Linked DNA regions of Homo sapiens: regions 1, 2, 3, 4 and 6 are each linked to region 5. The links are contacts of gene promoters, found by promoter capture Hi-C in blood cells and fetal thymus (Javierre and others, 2016). All regions are on one chromosome and are shown on one strand. The core of a region is centred on a gene start or on the middle of the fragment in contact, and the rest is flanking DNA. Distances in the headings are between cores, read along the strand shown.

The links. Contacts are between HindIII fragments. The CHiCAGO score rates a contact against its expected background, and 5 or more counts as called.
Region 1: a fragment that was not itself captured here is called in contact with the fragment with the promoter of PRSS54 in region 5 in 1 of 17 cell types (total CD4 T cells); the score reaches 5.8 in total CD4 T cells.
Region 2: the fragment with the promoter of ZNF319 here is called in contact with the fragment with the promoter of PRSS54 in region 5 in 2 of 17 cell types (M2 macrophages and fetal thymus); the score reaches 6.3 in M2 macrophages.
Region 3: a contact is called between a fragment that was not itself captured here and the fragment with the promoter of PRSS54 in region 5, in 2 of 17 cell types (naive CD8 T cells and total CD4 T cells). The highest score is 7.6, in naive CD8 T cells.
Region 4: the fragment with the promoter of SPMIP8 here is called in contact with the fragment with the promoter of PRSS54 in region 5 in 11 of 17 cell types (fetal thymus, naive CD8 T cells, total B cells and 8 more); the score reaches 14.5 in fetal thymus.
Region 6: a contact is called between the fragment with the promoter of SLC38A7 here and the fragment with the promoter of PRSS54 in region 5, in 7 of 17 cell types (M0 macrophages, total B cells, M2 macrophages and 4 more). The highest score is 7.1, in M0 macrophages.

The regions. Positions count from the first base shown.
Region 1 is chr16:58,768,865-58,771,593 of GRCh38, reverse strand. All of the region lies in intron 2 of LOC107984867 (a long non-coding RNA gene), which reads right to left. It also overlaps the pseudogene RN7SL143P. Among named protein-coding and RNA genes, the nearest start is that of GOT2, 36 kb to the right of the region's middle. The HindIII fragment of the contact is 3,631 bases long and covers 1-2,729 here.
Region 2 is chr16:57,999,287-58,001,986 of GRCh38, reverse strand. ZNF319 (zinc finger protein 319) reads left to right here and starts at 1,315. Exons shown (of 2, transcript NM_020807.3): 1 at 1,315-2,494. USB1 (U6 snRNA biogenesis phosphodiesterase 1) reads right to left here and starts at 580. Exons shown (of 7, transcript NM_024598.4): 1 at 406-580. The coding sequence starts at 503. RefSeq lists enhancers at 342-441, 468-762, 935-1,104, 1,962-2,231 and silencers at 522-771, 1,062-1,661, 1,712-1,841. The HindIII fragment of the contact is 9,268 bases long and covers 1-2,700 here.
Region 3 is chr16:57,872,567-57,875,266 of GRCh38, reverse strand. No RefSeq gene overlaps it. Among named protein-coding and RNA genes, the nearest start is that of KIFC3, 71 kb to the right of the region's middle. RefSeq lists an enhancer at 1,606-2,133. The HindIII fragment of the contact is 1,231 bases long and covers 796-2,026 here.
Region 4 is chr16:57,975,261-57,977,960 of GRCh38, reverse strand. It overlaps SPMIP8 (sperm microtubule inner protein 8), which reads right to left and starts at 1,417. Exons shown (of 8, transcript NM_199456.3): 1 at 1,327-1,417; 2 at 1-146. The coding sequence starts at 144. The HindIII fragment of the contact is 9,202 bases long and covers 1-2,700 here.
Region 5 is chr16:58,293,687-58,296,386 of GRCh38, reverse strand. It overlaps PRSS54 (serine protease 54), which reads left to right and starts at 1,362. Exons shown (of 7, transcript NM_001305173.2): 1 at 1,362-1,500; 2 at 2,178-2,402; 3 at 2,565-2,655. The coding sequence starts at 2,571. The HindIII fragment of the contact is 4,073 bases long and covers 1,198-2,700 here.
Region 6 is chr16:58,683,406-58,686,105 of GRCh38, reverse strand. It overlaps SLC38A7 (solute carrier family 38 member 7), which reads left to right and starts at 1,336. Exons shown (of 12, transcript NM_018231.3): 1 at 1,336-1,389; 2 at 1,928-2,151. RefSeq lists enhancers at 1,550-1,609, 1,120-1,964. The HindIII fragment of the contact is 5,837 bases long and covers 1,279-2,700 here.

The sequences.
Region 1 (2,729 bases), core at 20-2,519, 480 kb before region 5:
TTCAGCATGGGACCTGGTACAGACAACTTATACCATCTCCCACTCCTCTTCTCCTCCTCAAGGGGCTACCAATCTTGATGAACGATGAGGGTGAGTGTCGGTAATGAGGCAGAATGGTAGGAAATAATAAGTTAACAAGCCACTTCAGAAATGACTGCATTCATTCTGTTGAGCAGCTACTTAAGTTCCGACAGTTCACACTCATTTGCTAGAGTGTAATTCTAATCAGAATGAAAGTCCTTAATCACAGCACCATTACAGAATCTTCTGTCCTGAACCTATTAGGGCTCTTATCAAGTAAATACCTTGCATTTTTGAGCCTCTGCAAAGGAAACTGAGTCAGCGGTTCACAGCTCTACTTATCCCAGGATTAGTGCTGATGCTGCCAGGTCACAAAGCAATACTCATCCCTCCCCTACCTATTTGTTTCATCCGACCATGACTTGGCCTTCCACCATCCCATACCCTGTGAATAAAGGTCATAAATGCCCTCCCTCCTGCACGGACTCAGGTCAACACACATATCCTGGTTTTACGTTGTGCTGGTCATTTAACTTTTCTCTATCTCACTTTCTTTACATGTAAAGCAGATGATCAAGTCATAGTGCCCCATTGAGCACCAATTGCCCTGATACAAGGCAGTACCTCTTATGATGTTGATGTGAGGGTAGCAGGCAGAGGGATGTGGGTGGAGGATAGTAAAAGCCAATGGAGCAGGCCAGAAACATCACTGGGTTTGGGTTACTTTGAGGTTTGTTTGCTTGTTTGTTTTAAGAGATGGGGTCTCATTATGTTGCCCAGGCTGGAGTGCAGTGGCTATTCACAGGCATGATCTCACTGCTGAGCAGCACGGGAGTTTTGACCTGCTCTATTACTGACCTGGGCCAGTTCACCCCTCCTTAGGCAGCCTGGCAGTCTCCAGCTCCCAAGAGTCATCATACTGACACTGAACTTAGCATGGACACCCATGGGCATAGCGCACTACAGCCCAGAACTTTTGGGCTCAAGTAATCCTCTCACCTCTATCTCCTGAGTAGCTAAGACTACAAGTGTGGGCCACTGCATCTGACTAATTTTGGAAATAATTGAGAGTAATGAAGAGAAAAGGAGAAAACCAGGTCACTGGTCTGCAATATCTTGCAAAATTAATTAAAAGGAAAAGTGTCATGTTTCTTCATTATAAATGGCTCTCACCTTTGGACCAACTCCCAGAAGTCCACCTTGGCCCCCCGCAAGGTCAACAGCGCTGTTTGAAGTCAATTCTGTAGCCCTCAAATTTAAATAATTATATGTTCTCCAAGTCTGCCCCATCTCTATTCTTTTGGTTACTCAGGCTGGATATTCTAGATCTATTTTTGACTCCTTCCTCAACTACCAAACTCTTCAATATCTCTACTATTCCGTATCTCTTCACCACTCCAATGGATGGTCAGTATAAAGTTTCCCTCTCAACTGACATTGAAAAAGCATTTCGCTTTGTTCATCCTGCCTCCAGTATCTCCATTTCAGTGTTTCAGGTCTACCCTGTGATTTTTTTTTTTTTTTTTTGAGATGGAGTCTCGCTCTGTTGCCCAGGCTGGAGTGCAGCAGCACGAGCTCAGCTCACTGCAACCTCTGCCTTCTGGTTTCAAGCGATTCTCCTGCCTCAGCCTCCTGAGTAGCTGGGACTACAGGTGCATGCCACCATGCCCGGCTAATTTTTGTATTTTTAGTAGAGATGGGGTTTCACTATAGTGGCCAAGCTGGTCTCGAACTCCTGACCTGCCTACCTCAACCTCCCAAAATGCTGGGATTACATGCGTGAGCCACTGCACCCGGCCAGGGATTTTAACCTTTAAAAATAAAGCTCTTGTTCCAAAACACTAAATGTCTCCCTAGTTTCCACTAAATAAAGGCCCAAATATCTCAGCCTGGTATTCAACTATTTTCATAATCTGACCCCAAACTTCCCATCTCCAACAGCTCTTGCTGTCTCCTTCCTTGAATTCTAGAGGCCACCCAAGCTGAACTGATTGCTAGTCTCAGTGCATGCCTCTGCTTCCTCTTCCCACATATATATTATGATGTTTTCTGCCTACGAGAAATCCTTAATTCCCAAATTTGTTCAGGTCTAAATTGTTCCTAAACATCAACATGCAACTCAAATGGCACCTTTCCTGAAGACTTTTCTGAACCCCCAAATAGAAGAGATCTTTATTCTCTGAACCCTCTCTCATAGCATTTACTACAGTATGACGACCTACAGGACTGAGTTCTTAACCAGTGCACTCAGCTCCCTCTCAGAGTACAACAAATCCAACTCCAAGGGACTTGAATCCTGGCATCATCATTGATCAGGTATTTGACCTGGGGTTATTTATTTAATCTCTGCCATCTTCCACTTGCTTATAAGATGGGAATAAGAATGATTCCTACTTCACTGGATATGGGAACTTCATGTATGAGGATTTCATGAGATAATACATGTCAGGTACTTGGCCTGCTGTCTGACACAGAAGTGCTCACTAAATTTTAGTTATGGTTTATTTATTTGTATCTGTGGGAGATACTTTCCAAAAAGGGTTGCTGTCAATCCCCTCCTTGCCTATAAGTGTGTGCCACTTCACCCATTAAGTTCATTACCTTTTCTCTTGACTCGAGACTGGCACCGTGACTTTCCTTGACCAATAAAATGCAGCAGAATGGATGCTATTTCTGGTCTTCTCCTTTAAGAAACCCAGCAGAGGCCC
Region 2 (2,700 bases), core at 66-2,565, 290 kb after region 5:
CCAGCCTGGCAGGGAGTGGGTGCTCAGTGAATATTTACTGGATGAATGAAAAGGCTCTCCCTACGCTTTAGCAAGTATTACTATCGCAATTGTATTCAAATCAGGAAACGGACCTAGGATGGTACAGGGATGTGTGCCAGGCGATAGAGTGGGCCAGCGCGAGGCTGGACCCGAACCCAGGTCTGGCCTCCCAACTTGGCCCTAGCCAGGTGGGGCCACTCTGGAGCTTTGTCTGGGGTGGGGGGGAGGGGTATATCTTCTGGATCCTCCTTTCTTCCTGCGTCCCCTTTTCCTTCCCAGAGCCGCCCCGCATCCTCCCTCCCCACTCCACCCCCAGACATTCGGGTCCCGTCTGGCTCTAGGGTGAATGCGCGCGCCCTCCGGAGAGACTTCCTCACTCCTCACCGACGGTGGCTCCCATCCCCCGGCCTGGTCCGCATCCCGTCCTCGGACTCATCCTCGGAGCCGCTGCTGCTGTAGCCCACCAGGGGCGCCGCGCTCATGGGGCCTCATCCAAGACCACCAGAGCAGGTCCACCAGCAACCTCAACCGGCACCCGGAGTTCCGCTGTGCCGGAAGCGCCCTCCCAGGGGCGGGGCCTGGGCTGGCACCGCCTCGGGGCGGAGCCGGGAGGGGCGGAACCCGGCAGGACAGTGGTGAAGATTCAGCCCACCGACTCCAAGCTGTCTGCCGGCTGCGCACGCGGATCTGGTCACCTGCAGCCTCCCGGCACCCCGCTGGGACCTCCCCAGCCTTCGTGTACCCATTTCATATATCGCTCAGGGCCCTCACCTTTCTGCCCGCTGCTGTCTGCAGCCACCCGGGACCAGACATACCAGACACGACAGTCCCGGGTCAGCGCACTAGACCCAGCGGAGACCCCTGCCTGCCCCGAGCCCGGCCAGGATCAGAGGTCCTGGAGCCCCCTCCTCAAACCAGCCCAAAGTCCAAGCCCCTAAAAGCCAAGCTGAGCAGTTAGGGGCGGATCAATTGTGGCAGACCAGAGCCTCTAGGAGGCCCCTCCTCTCCTGCGCAGAGCCGGGCCGAGGGCGGTCACCCGGAGCCCCCTCCCCTAAGCCCGAGCGGGGTGGCCGGAAGCAGAGCGCCCTTCCTCGGTTAGTCGAGGCGCCCAGGCCTGGCGACTCGAAAACCGCCCGGAGCACCCGGCTTGTCCGACCTGGCCCGGCCACGGGGTCCCCGGCAGGGGGCGGCCTCGCTCCGCGCCGCCCGCTCCTCCCGCATTGGCCGCCGCCGCCCGGGATGCCGCTCCTCCCCCGGCCCCGCCTCCCTGGCCCCCGCGCCGCCCGCCCGTCCGCCCGTCTCCGCAAGGCCATCGGTCCGTCCGCCCGCCCTCCCGGCGCTCCTCGCCCCGGCCCCGCTACTCCGGCAGCGCGCGTCGCTTCCTCCGTTCCGGCCGCCGCTAGCCCGTCCCCCGCCCCCGGTCCGGCCGCAGCCGCTACGCGAGGCCGGGGATTGGCAGCGCGCGTAGGCCGCGCCGCCGCGGATGGAGCCGGAATAAAGGGGCGGCCGAGAGAGCAGCTGGTCGCCGCTCGCCCCGCGCCTGCCCTGCAGGCGGCCTGGAGCAGGTGAGCGGCGGGGCGCCCGGGGCCGCATCTGGGGGCCACCCCCGCGCCCGCCGCACCCCTTCCTCTGCCGGCCCGGCCGCCCCCCCGCGCCCCTCCGCCGCGACCTAGCGGCCTCTTGAGCTTCTGGGCGGCCCAGGCCGGGCCTCGAGGCGCAGCCGCTTCCTGGGCCCGGCCTGTAGCCCTGGGGCCTTTCTCCAGCCCGGCCGCCCTCGGGGCTCGCCCTCGGGTCGCAGCGGCCGGGCCATCCCGGACGAGGGCTGACAGGACGCAGCCCAGCTGGGCCTGCAGGCAGGGCCGGCGGGAGGTGATCGGCTTTCATTCGGTTTCTCAGGGAGGAAGAAGAGACGGGGTGGGGCGCAGGTGGGGGGCCTCCCCTGCCTCTCCTTGCCTCCTCTCTCCCCTTTGCGGAGTGATCACAGAGGCTTCCTGGCTGCACCTTGCTGCAGGAGGGCCAGGGTGGGCAGGGGGTGCTGCAGACCAAGCCAGGGGACACTGTCTGACAGCCATTCATGCCAGAAAAAGCAAACAAAACAGTGGGTTGGCACAGCGGACCTACAGGCGCTCAGAGAAGCCCACCTTCCCCCTCTCTGTCCCGAGAAGGCTTAGAGTGGTACCTGCTTGCTCAAGCAACCTGCTGCCTCCACCCAGAGCAGCCGCTCCTCTCCTCCCTCCCTTCCGGAAGATGCTGAGGATGACAGCTTTTAGCCTGACTCTTACATTTCTTTGGCAGAGCAGTTAGAGGCCAGACTGTCCTGTGAAGGCTTCTCCTTCCTTCTTCCTCTGCTCAGGAGAAAACTTACAAACTTTTAAATGTAAGAGGCAGATGAGCTGGGAACCTGGAAGTGGGTTGCATCTGACTCTGAAAGTTCCTCCCTCTCGCTGGCATTACCTCATGCTGCCACAAAGTGGTGAGTTAGAGATTTGCCTGGGCTGGGTGGGCTTTACCTTCCAACAATTACCCAGAACTTTATAGGCTTGGAGTAAGGGAATGGAGTTGTCTCTAGAGAGGTGATGAGAAATGCTCTGTGGTTAGCATGCTGCATCCTGCATTGCCAAGGCAGACCAGGGCAGTTTCTTACATTTTCCTGCAGGCCTTGACACTATGAGATTCAGA
Region 3 (2,700 bases), core at 162-2,661, 420 kb after region 5:
TGGATCACATGAGGTCAGGAGTTCAAGACCAGCCTGGCCAAGATGCTGACACCCCTACTCTACTAAAAATACAAAAAGTAGCCGGGCGTGGTGGCACGCGTGTGTGGTCCCAGATGCTCGGGAGGCTGAGGCAGGAGAATTGCTTGAACCCGAGAGGTGGAGGTTGTGGTGAGCCGAGATCACACCACTGTACTACTCCAGCCTGGGTGACAGAGCAAGACTCTGTTAAAAAAAAAAGAAAAAAAAAGGAAGAAGATTCAAAGGATGCTTGATAAACTCATTGTAACCAAAAAATTGTGAGTAACATTTCCTAGATTCAATTTCCTGAGCACTATCTCCTTCGATATCTCTTCTGAAATGAAAAGAAAGACGGCCTGAGTGCCCTTATTTAATTTATTTATTTTTTGAGATGGAGTATTGTTCTGTTGCCCAGGCTGGAGTGCAATGGCGTGATCTCAGCTTACTACAACCTCTGCCTCCCGAGTTCAAGTGATTTCCGGCTAATTTTTGTATTTTTGGTAGAGATGCGGTTTCACCATGATGGCCAGGCTGGTTTCGAACTCCTGACCTCAAGTGATCCTGCCACCTTGGGCTCCCAAAGTACTGGGATTACAGGCGTCAGCCATTGCTCCTAGCCCTTGTATTATTCTTTCAATGGGCATAAGGTGTTGGCATCTCCAGGGGGTCCTCTTCCCTGGTCACCATGGTTGAGTTCCAGATTTAGCAAGTAAAAATACAGAAAGCCCAGGTAAATTTGAATTTCAGATAAACAATGAAGGTTTTTTTTTTTAAGCTTAAGTATATCTCATGCAATACTTGGGATATACTTATGCTAAAAAAAATTGTTATTTATCCAAAATTCAAATTCAACTTGGTGCCCTGTGTTTTTATCTGGCAATTCTGCAAGGTGAGGATGAGTGTCTCTCCTGCCCAGAGCAATTGGGGCTGCACCCTCTAGGGCCAACCTTGGGCCAGAGCCATCCTGGCATGCCCCTTCTCCAGAGCCAATCATGATTGGTGGAGGAAGAGGGAAAGCACCCACCCCAGGCTGCTGTTAGTGGTTTTTGTTTTTTATAGAGATGGGGTATCATTATGTTGCCCAGACTGGTCTAGAACTCCATGCCTCAAGCAATCCTTCTGCCTCCTTGCTGGGATTACAGGCATGTACGACCACGTCCAGCCTGTCCTGTCAGTGTTTCATTGTTCTTGTTTTTGAGACAGGGTCTTGCTCTGTCACCCACGCTGGAGTACAGTGGTTCAATCACAGCTCACTGCAGCCTCGACCTCCAGGACTCAGGTGATCCTCCTGCCACAGACATGCACCTCCACACCTGGCTATTTTTTTTTAACTATTTGTAGAGACGGGGGATAGGGGGTGGTGGGGACAAGTCGGGGGTCTCCCTATGTTGCCCAGGCTGGTCTCGAACTCCCTAACTCAAACAATCCTTTCATCTTGGCCTCCCAAAGTGTTGAGATTACAGATGTGAGCCACCACGTCTGGCCTGCCAGTGGTTTTTTAATATTTATCTTTATTAATTTTATCCTGAATGCACACACACAGGTGTTTGGGATCAGAGACAGATTTTATATTAATTACCTTTTAGCAAATAATAAGTACATAGCCTCCGCTCCCAGCCTCCCCTTAAGCCTTACTCCTGGCCAGGAAATGTCCCGTGCAAGTAGCCTGACACTCCATAGATGAAGGACAAGTTTTCTCTGCTTATAAAGGCGAAGGAGGTAGCTATTCCCCTCCCTTTTTGAAAGGGTCTCCTTGGAAACTTAATGGGCCCGAAACCTAACCCCAGCCCTTTGATATGTAAATAAAGCCTCACCCGGAACGAGATAGCCCCAGGTGTCTCAGCTTTAACCACCTGGAGGGGTCTTCAAGTTCTGGGACTTTCTCCCTTTGACATATAAATACCTAGGGAGATAGCGCCGGAGTCTTCCCGGCATTTTGGAGCTAGCCAAGAGACCTAGGCTCGGCTGTGGCCATTTGGCCGTCTCCCGGAGGGAGGTGAGAGAAGCTTTAGGATCCTTTCTAATCAAGGCAGTTAACTAGACAAATGGCTCCAGAGCGCATTATCAAGAGTCTCGGGAGACTGGGTCCCCACCTTTCACATTTCCAAATTTCTTCCTTTTCTTTCCTTCCTTCCTTCCTTTCTTTTTTCTTTTCTTTTTTTTTTTTTTTTTTTTTTTGACAGAGTCTCGCTCTGTCGCCCAGGCTTGAGTGCAGTGGTGCAATCTTGGCTCACCGCAACCTCCGCCTCCCAGACTAAAGCAATTCTCCTGCCTCCGCCTCCAGAGTGTCTAGAAATACAGGTGCGCGCCACTACCGCCCGGCTAATCTTTGTATTTTTAGTGGAGACAGTGTTTCACCATGCTGGCTAGGCTGGTCTTGAACTCCTGACCTCAAATGATCCACCGCACCCAGCCGCATTTCCAAATTTCTGAAATCAAGTGTTCCTTAATGAAAAGTGGGTAGAGGAGAGGGTCACGTGAAGTGTTTCCAGGCAGGTTCAAAAGAATAATTCAGATACCATGGAAAACTTCCACATATAAGTCAAATGTAAGTAATAAGTTTTAAAATCAGGGCCAGGTGCGCTGGCTCACACCTGTAACCACAGCACTTTGAGAGGCTGAGGCAGCAGGATCACTTGAGCCCAGGAGTTCAATACCAGTCTAGGTAACATGGCGAAAACC
Region 4 (2,700 bases), core at 168-2,667, 320 kb after region 5:
GGTGGGCAGGGCTGGGTGGTAGAGCTGCTGCTTCACGCCCGCCAGCTGGTTGCGCTGCCGCTCCATGGGAAGCAGGATGGCCGGGGAGGCATACACATGTGTGGAGCCATCGTCCCAGGGCACCAGGTCAATGATGCGGGCCATAGCTGGGGGGCAGAGGGTTCTAAGGGGCTCACCCTGGGCTCATGCTGGCCAGACACCCTTCTCTGCATGAAAACAACCTTGGCCAGTGCCGATGTCTACTTGCCAAACATTTATTTAGCACCTACTGTGTGCCAGGCCATTTTTCTGGAGCTCAGCATGAGGTGGCAGGAACATTCAGATAACAGAAGATAACAGAGACAACCCTCCCACTCCCCTTCCAACACACACATACACACACACACACACACACACACACTCACATTGTGCCATGGCTGTGAGGGAGGTCAGTACAGAGTGTGTGTTTCTGGGGAGGCTGGGGTTAGGACATTCAAGGAATGGTCTAAAAGAGGTGGTATTTGAGTCTATTCGTTTTTTTTTCTTTCTTTCTTTTCTTTTTTTTTTTTTTTTTGAGACAGTCTCACTCTTCTGCTCAGACTGAAGTACAGTGGCGCCATCTTGGCTCAATGCAACCTCTGTCTCCTGGGTTCAAGTGATTCTCCTGCCTCAGCCTCCTGAGGAACTGGGATTATAGGCATCCACCACCACATGTGACTAGTTTTTGTATTTTTAGTAGAGACGGGGTTTCACTGTGTTGGCCAGGCTGGTCTCGAACTCCTGACCTCAAGTGATCCACCCGCCTCAGCCTCTCAAAGTGCTGGGATTACAGGTGTGAGCCACCTTGCCTGGCGAGTCTATTCTTAAATAATAAGCAGGAAAGTGCAGCAGCAAGCGGGTTCAGAATGTAGCTTAGTATGCCGTATACCTCTGGGTGAATAATTATGGACTTGCCCTAGCTATTTACCCAAAATTCTACAGATTGACTCAGAAAGATTTTCAGGAAGGGGAGCAACATGATATATTTAAACTAGAAAAGCATTACTGGATACCCAGTGCCTCCCTTTAAAAAGCAGATAGTCCCAGGAGCCTTTCAGTCATTTACACTTTAGTGAGAATTTGTTGAGACAGCTTGCTTTCTTCCTGACCCTGAGTTAGAGGTGAGAGGTGGAGGTGGAAGCTAGGGTGGCAGGAGGAGAGAGGACCTTAGATCATGGAGGAGCAGGGAGGGGGCATGGTGACAAGGCATGGGGAAGCTGCCTTAGGGGATGTGACTGCCTGGGGAGGGACAGGGAGGGGGATCACGGATATGGGGAAGAGAGCAAGGGCTCCCTGCTTCTGACTCACCAATAGCAGCTACCTTATCTGTAGGGCCCAGGCCCAGGTGCACAGGCTTATAAGGACTTTCAGTTCTTTGACTGCTCAATGGGCAGAAGAGGAAGGGAGGTGGACGAGCCCTTATTATGGACAGCAGCAGAATAAAGGAACATTGTGCACAGACAATGCCCATTGCAGCCTGATTCTGAGGCACCCACTCCTTAGCAACCCTGGCAACTACAGGCTCTAACAAGAGCCTGTGCCAGAATTCCTGTGCTCTGGCCACTCCCTTCCAGCCTTCCTGAAGGCTGTGGTCTCCCAGGCCTTAGCACAGGCCAGGCATCTTGGGAAATGTCAGATGGGGAGCTGGGGTTCCCTGGAGGTAGTCAGGCCAAGGCAGGCCAGAAATGGCTACTGAGCCCACTGCAGGCTGTGTAATCCTGGGCTAATTACCGCCTCTCTCTGGGACTCAAGGCTCTCCTCTGTGTTAGGCAAGGACTCTAGGATCTGCCGTTAGGAGGATCTGGATGCTGAGAGGGATCTCCCCTCCCTGGAACCCTCAGGGAAGAGGGCACTGCACTGTCTGCCAGCCCTTGAGTCTCCAGGAGTGGAGATTAGCTGTGGCCAGTATCCAGGGTAAGCGTGAGGGGATCAGGGAGAGTGGTGGACTCAGCAGGCCAGGGATTAGCAGATGATACTCCACCCTCAGCCCCTGCAGGACTGCAGGCTCCCAGAAAAGCCAGGCTGTGAGTGCCCAAGGCCAGCACCCCAAAGCCCTGGGGCCTGCCCACCATCCTGGTCACAACCATTAGAGACAGACCCCCAAGGTGAGGAAACCCCAGGAGATCCTAACTTATTTGCATATATTGGCATGTGCTTTTGCATATACCTGCCCAGGGGCTGAACCTGATGGGTCTTGGAGCCCCTCCTGTGAAATTCTTGTAGGATTTGTTTCCCCAGTTGCTCCTCCTCCAGTGCTCCATACAGCTTCCAGAACAGCATTCCTAACTGCTACCCCTTACAAAAAACCTTCCCAGAGTTGACTCCACTCACCACCCCACCCCCAATTTATTTCTTGACTCTTTTAAAGTTATAAAATAGAAGAAATACAGAAAGTGAATAAATATCTAATGTAACTAATAATTTACAAAATGAGACCCCGTATAACTACCACCCACCCTGGTCAAGACATGGAGTACTACTTTTAAAACAGTTTATCAGTTTCTTAAAAAATGAAACAGAAATGTACCATATGATTGGGTCATCTGGAAGATTCTACCCCAGGAGGCTTCCCAAGAGAAATGAAAGTATATTGTGAGGCACGATGGCTCACACCTGTAATCCCAGCACTTTGGGAGGCTGAGGTGAGCAGATCACTTGAGGTTGGGAGTTTGAGACCAGCCT
Region 5 (2,700 bases), core at 113-2,612:
GCAACACAGTGAGACCCCATCTCTTCAAAAAAATATAATATGAAAAATTAGCCAGACTTGGTGGCACAGGCCTGTAGTTCCAGCTACTTGGGAGGCTGAGGCTGGAGGATCACTTGAGCCCAGGAGTTCGAGGCTGCAGTGAGCTGTGATTGCACCACTGTACTCTAGCCTGGACAACAGAGCAAGAACTTGTCTCTAAAAACAATAAAAAATAAAAATTTAAAATACAGCTTTTTGATACCTGTGATGTGGAACAAATTAAAGAATCAACTCGCACTTCTCCCACTGCCAAAAATTTTCTGTTCTTGTAGCAGAAGCCAATACCCCCGCCCCCCTGCCCAGGGTTAAAGGTGAGGGAGGGTGGTGAAGCCGGCAGGACATCAGGGGAACCATGGGGGAAGGAGGTAGCGGCTCCCTTTGGACTCAGGCCTCACTTTATTATTATTATTATTATTTTGAGACAGGCTGTCACTCTGTCGCCCAAGCTGTAGTGCAGTGGTGCGATCTCAGCTCACTGCAACCTCCACCTCAGCTTCCCGAGTACCTGGGACTATAGGTGTGTGCCACCACGCCTGGCTAAATTTTTGTATTTTTGGTAAAAGACAGGGTCTCACCATGTTACCCAGTCTGGCCTCAAACTCCTGAGCTCAAGCAATTTGCCTGCCTCGGCTTCGCAAAGTGCTGGGATTATAGGCGTGAGCCACCGTGCCCAGCCAGTTTCCACTTTCTCACCAGCCTTCCTGCCTTCCATCAGCCATTCATCTACCCATCCAGTAAGGATCTTCTGAGCGTCTGCACCAGAGGCCTGTGCGCCCACCCTCCCCCTGTGGCTCCGTGGAATTAACATCTTACCTCAACCTTGTCGACACTTCTCGAGTCCTGGCATTTGGGCTGAAACCAAAGCTGCTCACAGTGGCTGGAGTGGCAGATCCCATCTGGGCCTCTGGTTTGGCAGAGCTGGTCTGGTAGCTTAGATTGGACCCGGAAACTGAGAGGCTAAAGAAAACTGGGCTAAGTCTGAAAGAAACCACCCTGGGAGTGTAAGATGCTGACGGGGACTGGAAATTCCAAACCCACCCCAGTTGTGGGCTTCCTCAGTCCAGTCTGACAAGCATGTGTGGACACAGGGCGGGCGCTGAGTGGGGTAGACAGACCGTGGCCACGACCAGAGAAGACTTTGTAATCCAGCAAAAAGCTTGCCTTCTCAGACTAGGAGAGAGCCTGGCTTCCAGAAGAGCCCTGCCAAGGCTAAGCAACAAGGAGGCCTTTCATCCTAGCTCCTCGTAAGTCCCCATGTCCAGACAGTTGCTTGGTGGTGCCATGGTAACCGTGATGCCACAATGGAACATTCTTCCCAAGGCAGTAGAAGAAATCCTTCTGTTGAACTCTACTGTGTCAGGCCAGCCTGAGTTCATTTCTCCTTGAGCAGGAACAGTTCATGGACGAACTCTGAGGACCATTCTGAGGACAAGAGGCATCCAGTGTCATGAGTGGAACATGGTGACTTAGAACTGTGCACATGGGTTCCTTGGGCTTCTGTGCATTGCTTGACAGCTGTGTGACCTTGGACTGGCTAGTTGATGTCTCTGAGTATCAGTTTCTGAATCTGTAAAATGGCGATAACTCGAGTGTCTACTTCCTACCGCGGTTTTGCAAATGAACTAAGCTAAATGCTGGGGCTGTTCCTATGTAAAGATACAGGCTATTGGCCGGGCACGGTGGCTCACGCTGGTAATCCCAGCACTTTGGGAGACTGAGGCGGGTGGATCACCTGAGGTCAGGAGTTCGAGACCAGCCTGGCCAACGTGACGAAACCCCATCTGTACTAAAAATACAAATATTACAAAATATTACAAAATAATACAAAAATTAGCTGGGCGTGGTGGCGCACATCTGTAGTCCCAGCTACTCAGGAAGCTGAGGCAGGAAAATCGCTTGAACCTGGGAGGCAGAGGTTGCAGTGAGCCAAGCTCGTGCCACTGCACTCCAGCCTGCCAAGGGAGCGAGACTCAGTCTCAAAAAAAATAAAATAAAATAAAAAACAAAAAAACAGGCTGTTAACAGTTAACAGAAGCCCTAGCGTTCTTTTAGCCAGCAGAGTTTAGAAGGGTAAAACCACAGCAGAGGCATTAATCCCAGGGTGGGCTTCCACTAAAACTCTACTTTTCTTTCAGCAGCATTTTATGGCTACAGAGTTAAGGCAAGGGTTGAATTCCACGAGTCAAAAAGCAGCCCTTTTCAGAGACCCAACTCTCTGGGGTGCTCAGGGGCTTGGGCTGGATTGAGAAGAAAACTGACAAGAGTAAGCTGCCCTCTCTTCTCTGGCCATCTCACAAACCACAGTGCGGGCCAACTGGTCCTGCCTCTTTACCACACAGAACCAAGCACTAGGGATAAGACAGGTCAGTGCCCTACATCTTGGAACCTTTGTTAGTAGAAAGAGGGGGAGCCTCTGATGTTTGGGAGGGAACATGTGTGTTTGGGAAGAGGATGGAAAAAAGAGGCATAGAAAACCCTGCATGTGTTTGGGAAGAGGATGGAGTCATTGGGTTTTGTTTCCCCAGCTGCCCATGGTGTCCGCGGCGGGTCTCTCTGGGGATGGCAAGATGCGAGGGGTGCTCCTGGTGCTGCTCGGCCTTCTCTATTCTTCCACCAGTGAGTGTGCTGCTTTCCTCCCTCTGACTTTAGCTGCACACGTGG
Region 6 (2,700 bases), core at 87-2,586, 390 kb before region 5:
ATAGCGGCCTTAACTGATTAAGACAGTATGATTCTATTTTTTTTTTTTTTTTTGAGACAGAGTCTCACTCTGTCTCCCAGGCTGGAGTGCAGTGGCACGATCTCTGCTCACCGCCACCTCCGCCCCCCGGGTTCAAGTGATTCTCCTGCCTCAGGCTCCCGAGTAGCTGGGACTACTGGCGTGCACCACCATGCCCAGCTAATTTTTGTATTTTTAATAGAGACAGGACTTCGCCATGTTGGCCAGGCTGGTCTCGAACTCCTGACCTCAAGTGATCAGCCCGCCTTGGCCTCCCAAAGTGCTGGGATTACAGGTGTGAGCCACCGCACTCAACCAGTATGATTCAATTTATATAAACTTTTTGGAGGCCAGGCACGGTGGCTCATGCCTGTAATCCCAGCACTTTGGGAGGCTGAGGTGGGTGGATCACTTGAGGTCAGGAGTTTGAGACCAACCTGGCCAACATGGCGAAACCCCATCTCTACTAAAAATACAAAAATTAGCTGGGAGTGGTGGTGCATGCCTGTAATCCCAGGTACTCGGGAGGCTGAGGCAGGAGAATCACATGAACCCGGGAGGCAGAGGTTGCAGTGAGCAAAGATCGTGCCACTGCACCCCAGCCGGGGAGACAGAGTGAGACTCTGTCTCAAAAAAAAAAAAAAAAAAAAAAAAAAAAAAGGTGTGATTTGGGTTTCTAAGGATTCCCAGTGTGTCCTCATCGGTGAGGACCTCTGATGCATGGAGAGGTAAGTGCAGTGGAGAGCATATCCACAAAACAGAGATGAGGCTATTGGGATGCTGGAGATTACGTGACAATTTATGAGTGACACACAGCCAAGAACAGAACCAGGACTGGATGCCCATTTCGTCATTCAACAAATATTTACTGAGCACCTACAATCCCTCAAAAACTGTTCTAGAGTCTAAACCGATGGGGTCGTAACCATGCCCCCAGCCCACTCCCTTGCAGGAAAGACCGTGGCTCCAGGTCCCCCACATTACTGATTAAAAAAAAACTCCAGTGCTCTGGCCATGGGCGTGAAGGCAAGGACAGAGACCGGGAGGATAATGAGGCCAAACAGCTTTGGCCCACCGCCACCGGGACTGGCAAAGAGGCCAGACCTCCTAATGCTCTTCCTTGGAGGAAGGAGCAGTGTTTGATTTGGTCAAGAGGCCAAGACTAAAAGTAAGAGGATAAACACGAGCTGGCTGGACGCGAGGCTGGCTCAGGGCAGTGCTGTCGGGCTGAGGATTCAGGGAGCTGGTGTTGTCCAAGCTTCACATTTGCGGAAACTACAACTCCCAGCGTGTCCCGCGGCCGCCCGAGCGGGCGTCATGTGATGCATGCTCACGTGTCTCCGCAGCCGGCTCGGGAAAGAATCCCCCAAGGTAGGTGGCCGGAGACAGGCTCTGGAGGGTGGAAGTGTTAGATCCCCGAGGTCTGTGGAGCCCCTCAGTCCCCGCCACCGCGGAAAAGCTCAGACCCTTTCCCTGCAGGGGTCCAGATCCTGGCGTCCTCGCCCCACGCCCGTCCCTCTGTTGCGCCAGCTCTGCCGCGCCTTTACCCAGCCAGAGGGTCTCCACCCAGTCCTAGGCCGGGATCGGGTCCCGGAGCTCCTCCCCAGGTTACCCCACAGTAGCCCACCCTTCTCGCTCCAGGCCTGGGAATCGCCCCGCCCCGGCCTCCTGGCCCGGGTGCGCCCTGGCTCACCTCACAAAGCCTCACCTCACAAAGCAGCCCACCCTTTCTATCTCAGGGCTCCAACCCCAGGCTGGACTGGGAGCACACTCCAGTTGGGATCTGAGGGGCCTACATCGCTGGCCTGAGCATGTGGGCATCAGGCTTCTATTCTGGCTCTGCCAGCTACCCACTGTGACCTTAGTCTAACCTCTCCCTCCTGGGCCTGTTTTCCTATCTGTCCTGAAGCTCCATTTCATGAGTAAGCGTGAGAGCCGCTCAGTTTCCTCCAGCTCTGCTGAAGCCAGCACAGAAGTAGCCCAAACTCTTCCCTCTGCTGACAGCAAATTTTAGGCAAAGTCTTGAGAAAGAAGAAATTGGGTCCAGAAAGGGAAGTGAGGAGAATCAGATCCCAGACCTTTGGGGAGAAGGAGCAACCGCCTCTGGCACAGCCCATCAGGGAGAAAGAGCAGGTAAGGTGCAACAATGAGCTGAGTAATTTGCCAGTGAGCAGTGGGGGTGCCGAGAGGTCTTAACCAAGGCAGAGAATCTGCAAGAGGTGGGACCCCCAGCTTCTGAGTTCCACGAGGACCCCAGCCTGCACTCTCATGTGGGTGGCAGGAGAGGCTGGAGGATGGTGCAGGACTCGGGCAGGGGTGCCCAAGGGAAACATTTTGGTTGGAGAGTCAGGAAGCCGCACCAAGCCTTGTGACCTTGGACGAATCACTCTGTAGACCTCTGTCTCTGTGACGTGAGCAGCGGGGAGGAGATGGTCACAGCTCTGGCAGTGGTCACTTTGCAGGGTTCTTTCTCTAGCTACACTGGAAGCCTGGGAGTCCCAAGACTCTGCCTTCGCTGCTCACTGCTTTGATTTTGCTGAGTTGCTGGTTGGGTGACAGGATGTGTAAGAGGATGTGTAAGCCCTGTGACATCTGACAGATCTTTCTGGGTTTCGAGCCAGCAGAGGAATGTTTCCTCTGGTGCCATGTCCCTTGGTTCCATGCTTGATAACAGATGGCTGA